Regions from separate parts of the Homo sapiens genome. Here all the other regions are linked to region 3. Evidence: promoter capture Hi-C in 16 types of primary human blood cells and fetal thymus (Javierre and others, 2016). All regions are on one chromosome and are shown on one strand. The core of a region is centred on a gene start or on the middle of the fragment in contact, and the rest is flanking DNA. Distances in the headings are between cores, read along the strand shown.

Evidence for each region. Contacts are between HindIII fragments. The CHiCAGO score rates a contact against its expected background, and 5 or more counts as called.
Region 1: a fragment that was not itself captured here is called in contact with the fragment with the promoter of ABCB10 in region 3 in 1 of 17 cell types (erythroblasts); the score reaches 6.9 in erythroblasts.
Region 2: a fragment that was not itself captured here is called in contact with the fragment with the promoter of ABCB10 in region 3 in 1 of 17 cell types (megakaryocytes); the score reaches 5.2 in megakaryocytes.
Region 4: a contact is called between a fragment that was not itself captured here and the fragment with the promoter of ABCB10 in region 3, in 1 of 17 cell types (endothelial precursors). The highest score is 6.0, in endothelial precursors.

Annotation. Positions count from the first base shown.
Region 1 is chr1:230,139,073-230,144,444 of GRCh38, reverse strand. The region is part of intron 1 of GALNT2 (polypeptide N-acetylgalactosaminyltransferase 2); the gene reads right to left. Among named protein-coding and RNA genes, the nearest start is that of GALNT2, 75 kb to the right of the region's middle. RefSeq lists an enhancer at 3,557-4,149. The HindIII fragment of the contact is 4,135 bases long and covers 1-3,689 here.
Region 2 is chr1:230,155,782-230,160,603 of GRCh38, reverse strand. All of the region lies in intron 1 of GALNT2 (polypeptide N-acetylgalactosaminyltransferase 2), which reads right to left. Among named protein-coding and RNA genes, the nearest start is that of GALNT2, 91 kb to the right of the region's middle. The HindIII fragment of the contact is 6,049 bases long and covers 1-4,546 here.
Region 3 is chr1:229,557,240-229,562,595 of GRCh38, reverse strand. ABCB10 (ATP binding cassette subfamily B member 10) reads left to right here and starts at 3,889. Exons shown (of 13, transcript NM_012089.3): 1 at 3,889-4,460. The coding sequence starts at 3,944. RefSeq lists an enhancer at 3,110-3,299 and silencers at 3,470-4,169, 4,230-4,679. The HindIII fragment of the contact is 4,467 bases long and covers 1,060-5,356 here.
Region 4 is chr1:230,199,630-230,204,432 of GRCh38, reverse strand. GALNT2 (polypeptide N-acetylgalactosaminyltransferase 2) reads right to left here. Exons shown (of 16, transcript NM_004481.5): 3 at 1,143-1,296. Among named protein-coding and RNA genes, the nearest start is that of GALNT2, 130 kb to the right of the region's middle. RefSeq lists an enhancer at 3,563-4,062. The HindIII fragment of the contact is 2,208 bases long and covers 1,266-3,473 here.

The DNA.
Region 1 (5,372 bases), core at 373-2,872, 580 kb before region 3:
CACCGGCTACTCTGAGCTTTTATCATTTGGTGCTGCGGGTGACGCTGGCTCTGTGATCCTCTGGTTATAGAGAAGCCGAGTGTAGTAGTCTTTCTTGGTTTCAGGCACAAAACAGGACAAATGTTCTGGATACTAACTACTGTCTCCATGTAATTATTAACATTTCCCCTTTCATTCTCAAAAGCACTCAGGTCTGGACACTAAATAGCATGGTCACTCTAGATACAGGGAGAGGGTTGTGAAATAACAGTGTCAACTCTTTGACATGTGGCCCAGAAGGCAGCACGGAGACGTCTCCTACCCCAACCTGCTCTGCCTCCCGATCCAGGTGTGGCCAGGAGGATCTGCATCAAGCCACCTCCCACGACACAGCTGTCAAGCACTCGCAGGTGCTGCTTTTGTAAGTGGAATATGTTCTGGCAAATATAGGAGGTATCGTTCTGAATGTCCTAAGATGTGTCACCTCCATTTAAAAGAGTGCTATTTTGAAAGTGATTAGAATTTAAAAGTTAGCAATTAAAGCCTAATTACAAAGAAAATTCTTGATATCTGACAAACAGCCAAATAACAGGAGGGACCATCATCAGGACAAACAAGATGAGCTGGTGATCGCTGAGCAGGGCGACAGTTAAATTCTGCCTGTCACAGCTGGGGGCATCTGGTTGGCGCATCAATGTCACCCACGTGCGTGTGGCAGATAAAGACAAGCACAATACCCTTTCAGTTATCAGAGCAGCAACAGAGGCCTGGAAGAACTCAATGCTTTAATAAGAGCGTGGGGCTGACACTTTCCCATGTGAAAAGCAACATGCTGCGTAAAGCCAAGAAAAAACCAAGGAAGTGTTCAGGCCGACAGACGACCTCTTTCTCCTTGGCCCCTACTGCACCTGCCATGCCTCTTTACAGGTCAGCAGCAGCATCCACAAGAACTTCAGCAGGACCACCCCGCAGTTCTGCATGGGACTTCAGGACCCCATGAAGGATGGGCAGCGGTGCTGTGTGACTGTGGAACCTGCACACACCACACCTTGTTGCTGCTTCTGCTCTTCTGCTCTCGAATGTCTCCAGTTCTGCATTTCATTCCTAGCAGCTGCTGCAAACAACTGGACATCTCTTACCAAAAACTAACTACACCTTCCAGAGAAGCTCTCAGGCTGCGGATTCCCCTGATTTTTCACACGCAGAAACTGAAAGCCAGAGAGAGTGAGGACCCTGCCCAAAGCCCAGATGCTCACAGGGAATGGGGCTGACAGTGCCCAGTACCCCAATTCCCAGAATCCACTGCAAGGGAAGGACTAGGAGGTTCAGTCTCTGGACTCAGGCTCCAGGAGTACCAGAAGCCTAGAGGAGCCAGCACCATTCTCTTCACCAGCTGCTCAGACATGGACTTGGGCAGCTCTCCAGCCCACTCCCCTAAAAACAGTTTGAACCAGGGATGGGCCCAGCCTGCAGGCTGCTGCTCTGAAGAGCAGCCACAGGAAGGAAATGGCTCTCCTGGAATTGCTGGCCCCCAGGACCCAGGAGAGCTCAAACCTTCTCCCAGGGTACGGGCCAATTCTCACATAGAGAGCATCTGGCTTTAAATGAACAGAAGGAGGATAATTTATAAGCAAGTGTTCAGAAAAACCCAGCCTTCCCACGCAGGCCCCACAGTAAGACAGAGGACAAGAAGTAGCTGACCAGCAAGTATGCAGACAGCATTCAGCAAATGAGCATGCGAACTTAGGTGAACAGAGCAGGCAACGACCAGCTTAGGAAAGTTACACTTTAGACTTCCAGACTCACCAAAGCACAGGCGTATTTTTACCCATAATGTTCTAGACACTTAAATGGTGCTTACTATGCACGTACTAGGTATATTTAATTATATTAACCCAGGTCACCCTCAGAAGAGCCCTAGGAGGTAGGTACTACTTTTTTCCCCATTTTACAAAGGAGGAAACAGAGGCACACAGAGGTTAAGTTACTTGCCCCAGATCAAGAGTGATCAGCTGGCGGGGCTGGATATAAGCCCGGGCCCTTAACGACTTCACCATACAGCCTCTGAGCATGGGGGGCACAGTGAGTCCCCCTACACAGACTACTTGGTCAGTGCCACTCTAAGAGCCACCTGGAGTTCTCGCAGACCCTGTGTGGCCCAAGTGCGGAAGAATGCTGATGTGGAAAGAAGTGGCCGGGTGGATGGAGGCCATCCCTTATGCTTCCTGTGGCCTGGTGGACGGATGCCATCCCTCATGCTTCCTGGCTGGGATGCCACCGTTCTCCTTCCCCACCCTCCCCCCACCTCCACAGGAGGTCCTAATCCCAAAATGCAGCCCAGCCTTTTATTAAGCAGTGTGGTGGCAAGGTCTCGGCCAGGGGTGGTAGCTCAAACCTGTAATCCCAGCACTTTGGGAGGCCAAGGCAGGAAGATCACTTGAGGCCAGGAGTTCAAGACCAGCCTGGGCAACACAGTGAGGCTCTCGTCTCTAACAAAAAAACAAACAAAAAATTTGCCTGGCATGGTGGTAAGCACTTGTCATCCTAGCTACTTGGGAGGCAGAGGCGGGAAAATAAGCCCAGGCGTTTGATGCTGCAGTGAGATATGATTGTGGCACGCACTTCAGCCTGGACAATAGAGCGAGACCCTGTCTCAAAAAAAAAAAAAAAAAAAAAAGGAAAACAAAAGAAAGCGGGGTCTTGAAGAGATATCTGTATACCCATATTTCACAGCAGCACTATTCACAATAGCCATAAGGACCCACGTGTCCATCAATGGGTGACTAGATCAACAAAATGTGGCCTAACCATAAAATGGAATATTCAGCCCTAAATAGGGAGAAAACTCTGACGCGCGCTACAACATGGATGAACCCTGAGGACATTATGCTAAGTGAAATAAGCCAGTCACAAAAGGATAAATACTGGATGATTCCACTAACATGAGGGACCTAGAGGAGTCAAATTCATGAAGACAGAAAGTAGAATGGTGGTTGCCAGGGGGAGGGGAGGGGAGAAGGGAGTCAGTGTTTAATGAGACAGAGTTTCAGTTTTGCAAGATGAAAGAGTTCTGTGGATGCGTGAGGATACTGAGCTGTAAATTTAAGGATGGTTAAGACAGCAAATTTTATGATGTATGTATTTTACCAACTTTTAAGGATTAAAAACAAAGTAAGGAACCCAGCCCGGGTCTGGAGCCAGAGCCTGTACGAGTCCCTTCTGCGCAGTGTTAAGATGGGCAGGATCTCTCCTTTCAGCTGTAATATTAAGACTCCAGGACACACTGTCAACAAATGTTGCCAACAAAATAAATCAGTTCCTACTAATCTCCTGTGGGGTGATCCAATTCACATTCACTCACATTCCCCTTGAAGAAACAGAATGTCTTTAAGCATGGTTACCTACAGATCTATGCATTCTTGTTTCGTTTGTCATTTGTTTCAAAATAGACACACATTTGCAACGAATGCTGGAATTTTTCAATGATGACACAAAAGCAGAGAAAATAAGAATATAGCTATTTCAGAACTAGAAAGGATACGTATCTTCCCTTCCACACTATCACTTGGTAATGGAAAAGAGGTCCTCTGAATACACTGAAATACTGTACAGCTGGGTTGTATAATGGCATATACTACTGGGAGTCACATTATTTTGTGTTTTGCTACATGATTTAGACAATTCATTTACTACTGAGTTATGCACAAGCTTTTCCCTGAGGAAAAGGGGAAGGGAGGGGTGAGGAGAAAGGTTCGAATGATCTCTAAACACTTGACACAGACAGAACTCATTGTGGGAGGGGAGAAGATAAAACCATAATACACGTTTGCAGAGAAGCCTCCAGCTGTGGCAGCGCGTCACTCCAGGAAGCACAGGCTGGAGGAAGGGGGAAGTTTCCCGAGCACCACTGACAGTACTCCCGGTTCCGAGGCTGGATTTCTATAGCAACGGACAGCAGCTTCACGGGAAGTCACGCTCCACTGTGCTCCCATCCCCTCAGTAGGACAGGGACCACTCTCTGTCACCTAGGCACTGCTGTCCAGGGGCTGGGGCACTGGGAAGGGCAGGGACTTGGCCCAGGGCAGTGGAGCCAGGCAGTGGCAGGGGTAGGAATCCAACTCCAGGCCTTGGCCAAACCTACCAGCCACACTACTGTCTGTGTACACACTACTGGCAGGGACTGTTGCCTGGTTAACCATCACCTGTCTCCAAACATGAAGCACAGGCTGGCAGAGGTGAGCCATCCCCTAAACCCAAGCCTTGGGATTCATTCCTCCTCTCAGGCAGAGGTGAGCTGGCCATTAAAAAGCCGACCCCCAAGGGGAAGAAAGGGGTGTCCAAGAAGCAGACAGAAGCCCCGTGGGGGAGGGCGCACTCAGCAGACAGTTCCAGTACAGCTGACGCAGGGACCCGGCAGCCTGGACCAGGCACAGCCTCTCTGGGCCTGGGGTGGTCGCAGGATGTCTGAGGAAGGCTGGGCTGATTCATCTTTATGGTCCCTTCCTCCCAGGGCTACGCAATTCTGTGAGTCTGTGGATGTACAACCTGAATGACCAGCCCACAGGACAATTAAAGGTTCCCAGGAGCTGAAAGAACTTCATTCCAAGTAGATTATTTCCGCAACAGCCCAAAGCAAAACAACTCTCCATAAACCTGAGTAATCTTCATAGGTGGGAACGAAACTGGATTTCCTTTAATACACCAGTTCATCCTTCCTTACCCCTTAGTCCATGCAACGGCAAATTATTACGCTCGCAGTGCTTTGCTTGTATTTTCCTTGGAATTTTACCAAAAAACAAAAAATCCCTTACTATTCTACTGCTCTTTCCATTGGTGGCCATTTTCTTACAATTCTAGCTGTTGTCAGTGGAACAGGTGCTGGTTCTGGACTGCCTGATAGGCTTACAGTGGCTCCCCTCCAGGCCCAGTGCCAGCAGCCCTGCTGCAGAATAACCGTCCTCCCTTCATGGGGCAGGAGGAGTGAGGCGTTGCTGAAGGCAGAGGCTGAGACCCTGAACTCCAGGCTGCACTGTGCTGTCTTAGCCTAGAAGAGGGGTCTTGGTGTGTCCCATGCAGCTTGGAAGTTGTGGCAGGGAACCGAGAGGGATAAACTTCTCATCAGAAGGGACACATGTGGCCAGGAAGGAGCACTTGGCTTCAACGATAACATCGGGATTCTTCAGATTTAGCAAGAGGACCCTGATTGTTCTCATCTAAATGTCTTCATTTAAATATAAATCTCTGAAATGGGGATTATTAGATACCTTTCAAACAGTAAGGTGAGGGGACCAAAGCCGGGTAAAGTGGCTGTCAATGGTCAACAGGAAGTAGCAGCTAGAAAAAGCCAGAAGCTCTTGTTGGTCTCCTCACACCATAACCCCCGTGAGGGTAGA
Region 2 (4,822 bases), core at 273-2,772, 600 kb before region 3:
TAGCTGGGATTACAGGCGCCCACTACCACGACCGGCTAATTTTTTTATATTTTTAGTAGAGACGGGGTTTCACCATGTTGGCCAGGGTGGTCTCAAACTCCTGACCTCAGGTGATCCACCTGCCTTGGCCTCCCACATCTGAAAGTTCTTTTGAGTCTTCTGCTAGGAAGAAGAGATGCAGAGATCATTGTATACAGGGAGGCCCTGGCCCTCAGAGATCAGAGGTGAGTGCAAGGCATGGTGTGTGATCCTGGCCACGTCCAACGCCCTTCCTAAGGCTCACTCTCGCCTACAGAATGGGGATAGTGGTCAACAGTCAGCACAAAGGATTTCTGTAGACACCTGGTACAATGCCTGGCCCATCCTACATGTTTGATAACATCAGGGATTGTTATTAGCACTAGTGGAAAATCTTGATACTAACAGTAGAATCATTTCACTATGACAGAGACAATGGGTTGGAGAAGCACTTCATGGAAGGGAGTGAGGAAGGACTATGAGATGATGGTGGTCATCCTGGAGAAGGATAATCGTCTGATCAGTGAGCAGAAACTAAGGACATTGGCCTAGGAGTGGGGAGGAGGGAAGCACCTGGGTGGTGCGGCTGCTGGATTCAGACGACACCCCACAGAGAGGACTCCCCACTCCCCTTGGCAACTCTTGGCAGTCCCAGAAGGCACAGCAGCTGACTCCTCCAGAGTAGGAACAAAGCTCTAGCAAACAGGGATCCAGCCAAAGGCCAGCCAAGCTGGCACTTCCAACAGGTCCACAATGAAACAGCGATTCAAGGAAGAGGAGGGTCATTGCACCCAAAGCCAGCCAGCCTGCAGGTGGGGGGAGGTAGACAAGGTATCTTCTCCCTCAAGCTGACCGACAGGCACTTGGCCTGCATGAGACATGCAGTCTATCACCTTCACCACGTACAGCCTGCCCAGTGGGAACCACAACGGCTCGGGGTGATCTGGCACCCTCAGGTCACTGCACACTTCACGGTTTCCCCCTACCCCATGTAGGCTCAGTGTGGACCTCATGGCCCAAACTTAGAGCAAAGTGACCGTCCCCTCCCCTCTGAGAAAAGTATGACACATCTGATCCTCAACTAACCGGACTTTAGTTTTAAGCCTCTCTTTCAGAATAGGTAGAAATGAAAAGCAGGGATCCAAACAAAGAAACGAAATAATTGGGTGAATTTCTCCGGTTGACCTAGCCTCACACTCAGGGTCTCTTTCTTCTGATCCTTCTAATAAACTCAGGGGAGTGCTGAACACTTTAAGAGAAAAAGCAGTAGAAGGCTTTGCCTTCGTGTGCAAAGATGAGATATCATGGGCATTAAATGTGATTGCGGAGAAAGGAGCAATCATGGACCAAAACCCTGTCAATTCCCAGGTAAATAAAGCCTCACATCAACAGCAAAGGGTGCAGCCAATAGGGCAGGGGTACAGCGTCCTTTCCCACGGCTGGGTAAACTCAAAGGAATGTTTGCGGATTACAGGTTAAAGTGTACGCTTTTTTGAATGCTCTGTTTCAACCACTACTCTCTCTCTCATCCAAAAGCAGTGTCAGCAACCTCACCAGACACATGCCACCTGCCCCTTCACCTACTTCAAACATCTGATGTAAGAATAATAAATTGCTGCAGAGGCCACTGAAATCCAAAGCGGCATGGGGGCTGGGGCACTGCTCAGACACACTAGGTCCAAGGTTCAATCCTCTTTGTTGCCAGCTATTCACGACCTCGTGTGCAAACGAACAAAGCCTTTCAGATGGCATTCATCCAACTCACTTGCAGGCTGATGGTACAAAATCTTTATCTGTGATGGGAGGTGGCGGGGTGGGTAGGGGGTTGCAACATGCAAGAGCTTCCAGAAGGAGAGAAAGGACCTGAAAGGCTGCTGATTTGCAAGCCTGACTTGGTTTACGTGGAGGGAAATGACAGGAACACTTACAAGACACTTTGCCAGAGCCCCAGGCCTTCTGTCCCATGGGGCATCTCCAGTTCCGTGGCCCTGACCAGCTGCTTCCACTCTTGTGGATACCAGGCTCCCTGGAAGAGTCTCAGGTCAAGAGAGGGAGCCCAGGCTAAAAAGATTTTGCAGGTCATAGTTGCTGTGCATAAAGTTTGGCAAAGTGCCTCAGGAGGCCTCCCTCTTACTTCTATGTTTAGCTTTTTTCCAAAATAAAAGTTAATGTTTTCATGCCTTAGTTTCCCCATCTCTGAGAAAAGACAGTGCATATATAATGTAATCAGGTCTAAGCTCCAGTCTCTCCAGAATCCTACAACCAACTGCTGTGTTCAGGCCTTATCTACAGACTAGAGAACTGCACTAGTTCCTGGCTGGAACCTCTGGCCTCATCTCCCCACGCTACTCATCCCTCACACAACACGAAATGCCCCCTTCATCCTGCCCCCCTGCTACCCGGGCCTCCCGAGGGCTCTCTGTGTTCCACCACGCCCCATGCAAACATTTCCCTTTCAATGCCTCTGGAGTCACAGTTCATCCTACCCATTCAACCTGATCTGTGCTCAGTTCTGGCCTGTTCCATGACGGTTCTCCACATACAACAAGATCCTTCTCACTTCCCTGACTTGGCTTATGATTTTTTTTCTCTGCTTTTAAATTAAAAGTATAATTTACATACAGTAAAATTCACTCTTCTTAGTATCCAGATCTGGGAGCTTTGACATCTGCATATAGTCATGCAACCACCACCACAATCAAGATATAGAACAGTGCCACCATCCTCCAAAACTCCCCTGAGTACATTTGTAGTTAACTCTCTTCTCCAGCCCCTGGCAATCCTTGATCTGCTTTCTCTGTAGTTTTGCCTTTTCCAGAATGTCATATGAATAGAAGTATACAGTATGTAGCCTTTGGACCTGGCTTCTTAATGCACATAATGTACAGAGATCCATCCACATTGTGTGAACCGTGCTTGTCTCCTTTCCACTGCAGGAGGTATCCCGCCACATGCTGCATTCCACCATGTACGCAAACCACAGCTTGTTCATCCATTCCCCAGTCGTGGGACAGTTACGTAGTTTCCAGTTTTGGCAAATATGAATAATGCCATTATGAATCCCAAGAGCACATAAATTTCCATTTCCCTTGGATAATATCTAAGGGTGGGATTACTGCGTTGTATGAGAACATGTGTTTAGCTTTATAAGAAACTGCTCAACTATTTTCCAAAGTGGTTGTACCATTTTGCATTCCCACTGGCAAGGGATAAGAGTTCCAGCTGCTCTATGTCCTTGCCAGTACTTGGTGGCATTTTTGCTTTTTTTCCCCCCAAAGCCACTCCCCTAGGTGTATAGTGACATAATGCAGCTTTCTATAAGTTTGCTATAATGGTGCTTACGACACGCCAGGTATCATGCTCAATGGTTCACACACATCTCAATTAATGCTCACTCAATACTACACAGTAAGTTCCAATGTTTTCTCTGCTTTTAAATGCATCTAAACTGAAGTGGCATCTGAACCAAGGTCAAATGACCACAGTACACGAGGCCTTAAATGAGAGCCCTCCTGGGATGGTCTTATTTACTCCTGCAGGGATTCTCCACAATTCTCTCAGGCTCTGACTCAATGTTACCTCTTTCGTGATAGTTTCTCCAAATCAAAACATAATACAGCCCAGTCTGACCTTGCCTCTTACTGCACTTGATCAGCTCTCTAATGATAGAACCAAAGTATTTTCAAAACAGTTGATGTTTCTTATCTCCCAAACAAGACGGCTAGCTTCCTCAGGCCAGAGGATCTGTCTCCCCAACATTTCATCTTCACATTTTAGGGACTGACTGAAATGAATCAGAGTGTGTAGACAGTGTTCTGACATCAAAGGATGAGATGTGCTATTAAAAAAAACCACCACCAACTTGCTTACCATGGCCCCGAGTTCCACATTGCTTTCTAAAGCCACAACCTGCAGGTTACATTCTGCCCCTGCATTAGAAAGTTAAGCAAATTTAACTGCAGAAAATGTGATAGTTTAAGGGCCAAAAAAATAAATTGATCCGTGACAAACGATAATAAAATATCCAGCATCTAGGAAGCATGTTGAAAATGCTGGCAACTTTATGAAGGAATAATCAATTTTAGGAAACGAACGTTGAAGGTAAAGAAACGCAAAAAGGAGTCTCTTGAGTGAACTCACCAATGAATATATCCTACCAAGGACAAGCTGACTTCCCTAGGATGACATTGCAAACCAGTGTGGAAGCCAGAAACAGGCCTAAAATGACACGGTGAACTTCAGCCATGTAACCAGCCCAATATGTACAATGCAAGGAGTTTTCTCCCCAAGATTCAGGATCCAGGTCTTTGCTGTAAAACACACACACACACACACACACACTCTCTCTCTCTTTCTCTCTCTCTCTCTCTCTCTCCCTCGTCTGCTCCCCCATCCCAAAACCGCACCGTCTCCAGACATCAACCCCAGAAGGTCATCACCACCCAGAGGCCAGGTCTACGTGGTATTCCACTTGTATCTAAAATCAATGACTCTCTCTTCTCTTCCCCACCCTAAAAACACAAAAGCTTTACTCTTCTATCACCCACCCACAGACTGAGCCCCATGACCAGGACACAGTCTCTCCCACCCAGACAGAGCCCACCACACAGGCCCTTAGCACTGATCCCATGGTTTTCCTGATCTGACACAATAGTTCCCTCCCCTCTCCATGTGGCAAAATCACTACAGAATTAGTCCTTTTAAAGCAAGGCTTTTGTCCTCCACTCAGAACTCCTGAGTGAACTGGAGGTTGACGCCGAATGTCTTAGCGACCCTCAGAGTGCCCTCACGACCTGGCCCTCAA
Region 3 (5,356 bases), core at 2,640-5,139:
ACTCCAGTCTGGGCAACAAAGTGAGACTCTGTCTCAAAAAAAAAAAAAAAAAAGAGGCAGTGAAGTTATTCTTATTTTCAAGTGAGAAGAGAAGGTCATAGAAATGCAAAGCAATAATTCATATATATATGAAATGTATATGTTATATAAACATATATATATATATATTTAGAGTAGGTCATCTTTTTTGTTGTTGTTGTTGTGATGGCAATATAGGTCCAGGTGATCCTTCTGCTAATATTCATTCCCCATTGTACTTTTAAGAGCTATAGACTTTTTTTTTCTTTTCTTTCTTTTTTTTTTTTTGAGACAGAGTCTTGCTCTGTTGCCCAGGCTGGAGTGCAGTGGTGTGATCTCTGCTCACTGCAACCTCCGCCTCCTGGGTTCAAGCCATTCTCCTGCCTCAGCCTCCCCAGTAGCTGGGATTCCAGGCACCCACCACCACACACAGCTAATTTTTGTGTTTTCAGTAGAGATGAAGTGTCACCATGTTGGCCAGGCTGGTCTTGAACTCCTGACCTCAGGTGATCCACCCACCTCAGCCTCCCAAAGTGCTGGGATTACAGGCTTTCTTTTTTTTCTTGATACAGGGTCTCACTCTGTTGCCCAGGCTTGAGTGCAGTGGCCCAATCACAGCTCACTGAAGCTTTGACCTGCCGGGCTCAGGGAATCCTTCCACTTTAGCCTCCCAAGTATCTGGGACTACAGGCACACACCACCACACCCAGCTAATTTTTACATTTTTAGTTTTTGTACAGATGGAGTCTCCCAGTGTTGCACAGGTTGGTCTCAAACTCCTGGCCTCAAATGATCTTCCCACCTTGGCTTCCCAAAGTGTTGGGATTACAGGCGTGAGCCACCACACCTGGCCAAGTTTTGTTTTTTAATCAGCTACACTTGAGTTATTTTTCTATTGACTGGAGGCCTTAGAGAGCAATGGCAGAAAAAGGCAGTGGGATGCCATGCCAGGGAAGGCAGGAAGGGAAGGCCAGTCTGACATTTCCTGGCCCTTGCAGCAGCAGGGGTTTTCTGGAAAGTGGGTAAGAGAAAGATGAAGCTTAGGTCTAGGTTAAAATTGTCACTTTCTCTCCAACTGGGAGAGTGTCGTTCATTGATGTTTCTTCAGCTGGGCTCAAAGAAGAGGTAGCAGGATGCATGATGAGGCATGATCCTACTTCTTTTCAGAAGTCACTGAATAACATATTTGCTAAAAGGAACATGCTTAGTCATAAATATCAGTGGAGCTGATTTCACACTACACCACCAATTCTAGAACTTCTGCACTGATGAGAAACTAGCTTGAATTGTCGTCACCCTGGGGGCAGGAAAGTGGGGGGGCGGGGGTAGGGAGGCGAGACTCCATGTCCTCTGGGTTTAAGAGGTTGGACTTTAGAGGATTACATGCTTACTGCTCATTTCACAGGCACATTTAAGGCCCGACTTAACCCCACACTTTCTATTATCGATCCTTCCCCCACCTCACTCCTTACCTACCAGGACCATATACTTAAGGCACTCTACTAGGGACAAAATTTAAAGATGTGCTAAAAAGTCTCAGTAATCAAATCATGCAAAATTTATTTTAATTGAAAATTTTTAAGTCAGTTTTTATGAGGTGACTTCTGAAAAGAAATGGGATCGTTTTCATTGTGCATCTTGCTACCTCCTCTTTGTGTTTTTTTTGTTTTTATTTTGTTTTGAAAAGATGCAGTCTTGGTGTGTCGCCCAGGCTAGAGTGCATGGAGTGCAGTGACGTGATCTCAGCTCACTGCAACCTCCACCTCCTGGATTCAACCGATTATGCTCCCTCAGCGTCCCAAGTAGCTGAGACTACAGGCATGCACCACCAAGCCCAGCTAATTTTTGTATTTTCAGTAGGGATGGAGTTTCACCATGTTGGCCAGGCTGGTCTCAAACTCCAGACCTGGAGTGATCCGCCCGCCTCGGCCTCCTAGAATGTTGGGATTACAGGTGTGAGCCACCGCCTGGCCGCTACCTCCTCTTTTTTTTTCTTTTCTTTTTTTTTTTTGAGACGGAGTCTTGCTCTGTCTCCCAGGCTGGAGTGCGGTGTGGCACCATCTCAGCTCACTGCAACCTCCGCCTCCCGGGTTCAAGCAATTCTCCTGCCTCAGCCTCCTGCGTAGCTGGGATTACAGGCACGCTCCACCACACCTGGCTAATTTTTGTATTTTTAGTAGGGACGGGGTTTCACCACGTCGGTCAGGCTGGTCTCGAACTCCTGACCTCGTGATTCGCCCGCCTCAGCCTCCCAAAATGTTGGGATTACAGGTGTGAGCCACCGCGCCCGGCCGCTACCTCCTTTTTGAGCCCAACTAAAGAAACATCAAGGATTGATACCCTCCCAGTTGAAGAGAAAGTGACAACTTTAACCCAAATCTCACCTTCCTCTTACTTTCTCTTTCCCATTTTCCAGCTGCCAAACTAAGGGCAGCTGCTGTCAGTTTTTGTAAATAAAGTTTCCAGGGCTGGGATTAGAGCGAGAGAAGAGAGGCAGGATTGTGAAAGGTCAGGAGTGGATACTCAATCAAAATTTTTTATATTTTGTTCATTACGGATTTTTTAAATTAATTTTGATTTTTAAAAATATTGCACTAAAATGTTTATGTTGATTATTGAGGTTTTTTTATTTTGTGAACCCATAAAATTTGCAACTGACAGTACCCTGTCCAGGTCCAGTAAAAATACCTAGGAGTCTACAAAAATCTACCCACGACTCACTGGACCTCAGGTACATATCCCCCCCCGCCCCCATGAAGTCTCCATAAAGTGTCCCAGTGAGTTTTAATGTTCTCTCCTGTCTTTCCATGCACGTGTATTAAGATGCATTGCCTTCTGATTAGTGTTTTCCACTTCGAACAGCGGGAATGCCTCGACCACGCCTGTCTTCAAATTTCTGCTCTAGTTAAGAAACGATCTCAGGCCGGGCACGGTGGCTCACGCCTGCAATCCCAGCACTTTGGGAGGCTGACGCGGGCGGATCACCTGAGGTCAGGAGTTCGAAAAGAGCCTGACCAACATGGTAAAACCCCGTCTCTACTAAAAATACAAAATCAGCCGGGTGTGGTGGCGTATGCCTGTAATCCCAGCTACTTGGGAGGCTGAGAAGGGAGAATCACTTGAACCTGGGAGGCAGAGGTTGCAGTGAGCCGAGATCGTCTCAAGAAAAAAAAAAAAAAGAAAAAAAAGAAACGATCTCTTCCCTTCTCAAAGTTATATACATTTCACTATTCGCCAACCACCTCCTCCACGCCGTCCAGAGCTGAGCTGACACGCAGCGAAGTCCTCTCAGTGGTCCCTCCGCACCTCAGCCCTGTGCTTGGCAGCGAGACGAGTGACAGGGCCGCCCCAGCATGGGTCTCCCGGGCCGCGGACCCGCCCCACGCCGTATCCAGCACGCTGTCCTCCCGCCCCATCTTTGTGCCGGCCATCGTGTGGTCGCGTCTGCGCGCTCCGCCCGGTCTGCCGGCGTGAGAAAGAGCTCGTGTCGTTCCCAAGTTCAGACCAGAGGGGACGGCGAAGCGCGAAAAAGTTCCCTGCGCCCAGTACGCAGGCGCAGCCGTGCTCCTGGGCTTCCCGGGCCTCGTCCCAGCTGGCGCGCCCGGCGCTCCTCCGCCAGCGGGCAGTTGGGGGCGCTGCAGGGAGGGCACCCGAGCGGGTTGGGGGCGCTCGGAAGGGTGGCTTGCAAGGTCCGGGTAGCTGCAGTCCCCGGAGTGGGGCGGAGAGGCGCGGCACCGCGCGGACGAGGATGGGGCGGGGGCGGGCGCAGCCCGAGGGTGCAGGCACGATAAGGCGGGTGACAGCCAGCGGGGAGGGGCGGGCGCCACCGCGTCCACGCCCTTTGCTCGGGGCCGGGCCGGGAGGGTCCTCGGGCTTTGCGCGCGCCTGGCCGGCGGGCTGAGGCGTACGGGTCGCACGCAGCGCCATGCGAGGCCCCCCTGCCTGGCCGCTGCGGCTGCTCGAGCCACCGAGCCCTGCCGAGCCAGGTCGGCTCCTGCCGGTAGCCTGCGTGTGGGCCGCGGCCAGCCGCGTTCCCGGGTCCCTATCGCCGTTCACTGGCCTGAGGCCGGCGCGGCTATGGGGCGCGGGGCCCGCGCTGCTCTGGGGCGTTGGAGCCGCGCGCCGCTGGAGGAGCGGCTGCCGGGGCGGGGGTCCGGGCGCCTCGCGGGGCGTCCTGGGCCTCGCGCGGCTCCTGGGGCTGTGGGCTCGCGGCCCCGGCAGCTGCAGGTGCGGGGCTTTTGCCGGGCCAGGCGCTCCTCGGCTCCCGCGCGCCCGGTTCCCGGGCGGTCCCGCAGCCGCTGCCTGGGCAGGGGACGAGGCCTGGCGGCGCGGGCCGGCGGCGCCTCCCGGGGACAAGGGGCGGCTGCGCCCCGCAGCGGCCGGACTCCCGGAGGCCCGGAAGCTCCTGGGGCTGGCGTACCCTGAGCGCCGGAGGCTGGCAGGTAGGGTCCTCCCCGGCCACTTCCCTCCGCCGGGCCTCTCCTTCTCCACACGCGGGGTCCCGGGGCGCCGAGAGGGACACGGCCGGGCCGCAGAGCGCGTGTCACCGCCGCCTCTCCTGGGCCACTCCTAACCCCGGAGGAGGGAGGGGATCGCTCACCTCAGAGTAGCGTTGTCAAGATTTCGCCTTAGCTGGGGACTCGTTTGCAGATTTTACACTTGTTTTCTTGTTGACACACGTTATATATGTCATTATTGGAATCTTTGGGTCTGTTCCACCACCAACTTAGTGGGAGCATCTGTTTTGGCTTAGGCAGCAAAATGAGCTGGAGGTTTTTCCTTGGAAAAAAAAATTCTAGCCAAAAATATGCCTATTTTGTTATTAGGCGTTTATACTTTTTTTTTTTAACCAAAAACACATTATTTGCTTCAAGCGAGTCTGTCAAGCAGTCACCAATGCTTTCACAGCGGAAAGCAAAACTTTCAGACTTGTCTCTTGTGCAGGAAGTTACAGCACTGTGTTCAACAGGCCACACCAGTGATCTGTTCAGTAATTGAGTAACTTTTTTAAAAGAAGCCAAAATGAATGTTTTTAGAAACAAAATTTAAATAGGACAGTTTTCTATAGCTCCTCATTTTTTAGCCATAATTGGAGGAGTGTTTAGATGCAAGGGCCTTGTAAGATCTAAAATTTTTTCGATTTCTCTAAATCTTCACTCCTTCTATAAACATCTGTTGAGCCCTCATTCTGGACTGGGCCCTGGGTTTACAGTGGCATGCACAAGGAAACATGGTCCTCACTTCTGCTGGGGCTTCTAGGTTAGTGGGGAGAAGCATCTATGAAATATTCGTATGTATAGAGGTAAACCTGCACCTGTGGGCTGTGGAAGGGGGCCTG
Region 4 (4,803 bases), core at 1,120-3,619, 640 kb before region 3:
CTTTGGGAGGCCGAGGCGGGCGGATCACTTGAGGTCTGGAGTTTGAGACCAGCCTGGCCAACATGGTGAAATCCCATCTCTACTAAAAATACAAAAATTAGTCAGGTGTGGTGGCAGGCAGCTGTAATTCCAGATACTCGGGAGGCTGAGCCACAAATTGCTTGAACCTGGGAAGTAGAGGAGTAGAGGTTGCAGTGAGCCAAGATCACATCACTATATTCCAGCCTAGGCAACAGAGCAAGACTCAGTCTCCAAAAAAAAAAAGAAAAAGAAAAAGAAAAAGAAGGAGGTCAGGAGAGCAGTGGTTCATGTTTGTGATTCCAGCACTTTGGGAGGCTAAGGCGGGAGGATCACTTAAGGCCAGGAGTTCAAAACCAGCCTGAGCAAATGGAGAGACTTCACCTCTACCAAAAAATAAAAATAAAAAATTTTAAATAAATATTATCTGGATGTAGTGGTGAATGCCTGTAGTCCTAGCTACTCAGGAGGCTGAGATGGGAGGATTGCTTGAGCCCAAGAGTTTGAGGTTACAGTGAGCTATGATCGCACCACTGCATTCCAACCTGGGTGATAGAGGGAGACCCTATCTCTAAAAATAGAAAGAAAGATGTGGACAAGAGCCCTTCCTTTAGTACAGGGTGTGGAGATGTGGCACCTGTCCCTCCTGTGTTTCTGCTCAATTTAACATCTATTGTGCTGGGTAGTTCATTTCTCCTTTCTAATCTTTAGAACATTTCCAATATAAGCTGTCACAATAAGCAGGAATTTAGATTTTCTTCCTCCAAGGTTGGGAACAATGACAAATTTTGCATTTTTGTGAATGGATCATAAAAATAACAAGTGATCACTAAATATAAAGCCAGTCACACAACTCTCTTTCTGACTTCCACGCTCTGGCCAGAAACCCACAGCCTCTGCACACTGCCACAGGGCACCTAAAGACTAGAGCTGAATCTAGAACCATCCTTCCACTGCCTATGGATGAAGTTCCATTGCCATATACCTCAGGATTTTTCCTAGTTTTACAACACACATTCAATTTCCCAGAGTAATGGAGAAGTTCTAGTGTCACAGGTGAAAGCGACGTACTGGTTTGTGTGAAAGCAAATGAAGCTGCAGCAGGTGCTTAGTGGGGTACTTACTGGTCATGCCGGGTGTCAGGGATGGCTCTGTCCATTCGAAGCTTATCACTCTCCACCTGGTTGAACTTGTTGCGGGCGTAAGGGTCCTGCCCGGAGCGGACCATCGTCCCTCCAACATAAGCTTCCTGGTTAAAGTCTGGCCACCGTACTTTCCCTAAAAAGAGCAGAGCAGAGGGTAGGGATGAGGGAAAATGTGACCAAGTGCTCATCACAGAGACTGCAGTAAGTGTTAACTCCAGAAATCACATCCATGGCTTCTTTATATAGTGGCCATTTTAAACAACAAACTAGCTGAAAACAGCACAAGCAAGCATCATCCTGTCTACAACCCAGAGAATAGGAAACTGCAGGTTTGCCATTTACAGCATGAAAGTTAAAGGCCTGGTGTACAGGCATCTGTCCAGTGAACAAAGTAAGATCAAAGTACCTGTAACTGTGGCATCATTCATGTTTTCTATAAAAGGAGATGTTCTCAGCTTGTCCCACCTTTCCAGGGATTATAATGTTGACATTATCTCAGGTAGGGTGAAGAAGATCATGTATAAACTGCACATAAGGTATTCCATCATGTAACATCAGGTAACACAAAAATAAATGTTTATACAAAAAATAACCCCTAAAGAACAGGATATCAAAATACCCTTTGGTGAGACCTTGTCAAGGGGTCCTTTTTGCAGCTGTTAGTATGCCTGACCCCACGGGGAGAAAGTGAAGGATGTGGCTCTCAGAGGTGTCCTCATATGCACAGCAGGGGCCTGGCCATTCCTAACACACACATCATACCTGTTCTCTTCCTGGAAGAAAGGAAGCCAAGGCAGCCTGCCTGTCCCCTGGCATTGGCCTGAACCCTAGAATGCCAGGCACAAGGTTCTCCAAGAACACACCACTGCACTGAGGAGCTCTACCCTAGGGCAGAGGCAGTGTTGGCGACCAAGGAGCATTGAGAGGAGAGCACTGCTAGGCGAGTGAAGTCAGGATGAGCCCAGGTGTAATAAAGGCAGAGCCAGAGAAATGCACAAAGGCAGGATGCTCAAACAGCAGAAGACAGGTGGAAGGAGAGGCAGACTTGAAGCAAGGAGAACATTTATGATTCTGTGTCAACCTGGGTTTCAATCAAGCACCATTCGCCATTTGCCACCTATATGATCTCGGATACGCTATTCATTGTTTGAAATTAAGTTTCCTACAAAATAAGTAAATAGAATAACAAAAGGTTCTTCACGAGGACTTAATGGCCTACAATGTTCCACTTCATAGATATGACAAACTAAAAAATAATAATAAACACCACCAACAACCCTGCTCACATGAAACTCATACAATTTCCAGTGGTTGGAACTGCCATGAAGAAACATAAGGCTGTTATGGGGGCAGGGAGTACAGGGTTCCTGTTCTTTATGGGGTGGTCTGGTAAGGCCTAGCAAGATGATTTTGAGCAGATAACTGAACAAAGGCAGGGTGTGGGCATGCAACTCTCCGGGAGAATAGGGCACCGCAGTGCAAAGGTCCTAGTGTCGACATGAGCATGCCCATTCAGGAACCAGCCAGGAGGCCAGTGTGACTAAGGAGCAAGCAAGAGCCTGGCCGTCAGAGCCAAGGTTGGAGAGGGGAAGGCAGGGCTGCCGGCAGCTACACGAAACAGGGCAGCAAGGGGGAGACAGCTCTTTTGCAGCGTGTCAACCCTTGGGTCGTGCAGTTGACCTTGAAAACACGGTATGATAATAGCATGTGTACCTCCATATCTACTTTCCCAACAGAAATCCCTCATTACACAATTGAAGGGCCATTGTGTTCCTTTCTCTATTTCAGAGATGAGGAAACTGAGAATCAGTTACATGTAATTTGTTCAAGACAGAAGAGTAAATTTTCTATCTAAAAGCTCATCTGCTTCTTGTTGCAATGGTCCTGCGAGGTCAGAACCCCCATCTCATCACAGCTGGTTGCCGTGGAAATGATGCTTGGGGGGTGTCACAGAAGTCTGGCCTCTCAAATCGAAAATCAGTTCCAAAACCCACGAGCCTGGCTACAGCGATGATACCACGGCCCCAATAAACAGCTGCCTGTGGGAGCCGGCCAAGGTGTCAGCATCTTCTTATGCCGCAAATAAAATGTTTCCAAAACATGTTACTGGAAACATGTTTTCCGTGCAAAGACCATCCTAAAAATACTTACTGATCCTCCACTCTCTCCTCATCTTCCTGCCTTCACCCTCATATATTTTCAAGGATGAGAAGAAAAATAACACCTACCTGCGCTCAAGAGCGAGCAGCTTCTACTCCTCACCAGTGAGTTTATCCTTTCACGGACTAATACAAAAGAGGCTTTGAAGCTTTTGTTAAAATCTAAACCAGCAGCACCTACGGCAGAATTCCAATGAGCTGGTTCTAACAAACGTATTTAATGTCCTGAATACCCTGCACCACGGAACTTTGAACTATGGAATAAAGAACCATGACGGAGTCCCATGCGCAGCCAGAGAAGAGACCACCACCCGAGAGAGGTTTCATCCTACCATGTAACTCTGCTTACAGCCTACTTGCTTCTCACCGGCGTGCTGGGGACAGCAAAGTCTGAGGACTCTGGTTGGTGTGGGCCTGTGTGCAAGGAGAGCAGTGGCCATGGGATAAGGCCTCTGCACAGCTCTAGAAGCTTCAATCCCATTTCCACCCATACATCTCTTTGTGCTCTCACACCCCCACAGCCCTTCTGGAATAAGACCATCACAGCACAGGGTTTGCAAGATGTCTAATGCCAGTCATTCACAGGGCAGCTCAGACCCTGGCCTGCGGTGCATACTAGGTGACTCCACATGAGGTGTCATGCTAGATCCTGCAGGGAGAATAAGCACACACAGGCCCGTGACCCATGCTGTGGACTTCATGTTCTAGGAGGTAGAGGGAGACAGACAAGAATCAAATGACTGTACTAGGCCGGGCGCACTGGCTCACGCCTGTAATCCCAGCACTTTGGGGAGGCCGAGGCAGGTGGATCACGAGGCCAGGCGTTCGAGACCAGCCTGGCCAACATGGTGAAACCCCATCTCTACTAAAAATACAAAAAATTAGCCAGACGTGGTGGCAGGCGCCTGTAATCCCAGCTACTCAGGAGGCTGAGGCAGGAGAATCGTTTGAACCTGGGAGGCGGAGGTTGCAGTGAGCCGAGATTGCACCACTGCACTCCAGCCTGGGCAACAGTGCAAGACTCCATCTCAAAAAAAAAAAAAAAAAAGAAAAAAAAGAATTAAATGACCATACTAATAAATGTATCAATAAAAACTGAGCTAAGTGCTCTGAGGGTGAAGAATGAAGCATCTAATGGAGCAATCTTATCTAGACTGGGAAACCAGGGGCGGCTTCCCTGCAGAAAGAATATCTGAACTGAGATTTGAATCATGAGTAAAAATGAACTTGGAGAAGCCCTTGAAACTTCACAAAAATATCATCTTTCTTCAGCACCCAAAGACTACATGAGCCTACTGAGCGGTACCCTGCCCTGCCGCCTCCTTTGACACAGGAGCGTCTTCAACAGGACCCTGGTGTGGGCCCTGCCTTGTCTTGTGGCAATCTCCCTGAGACACACAGCTGTTTTACTAGAGACAGACTATCAACAGTATTTCTTTCATAAAAGCTTAGCAGTACTGGAATACTACAGGGGCTTTCAA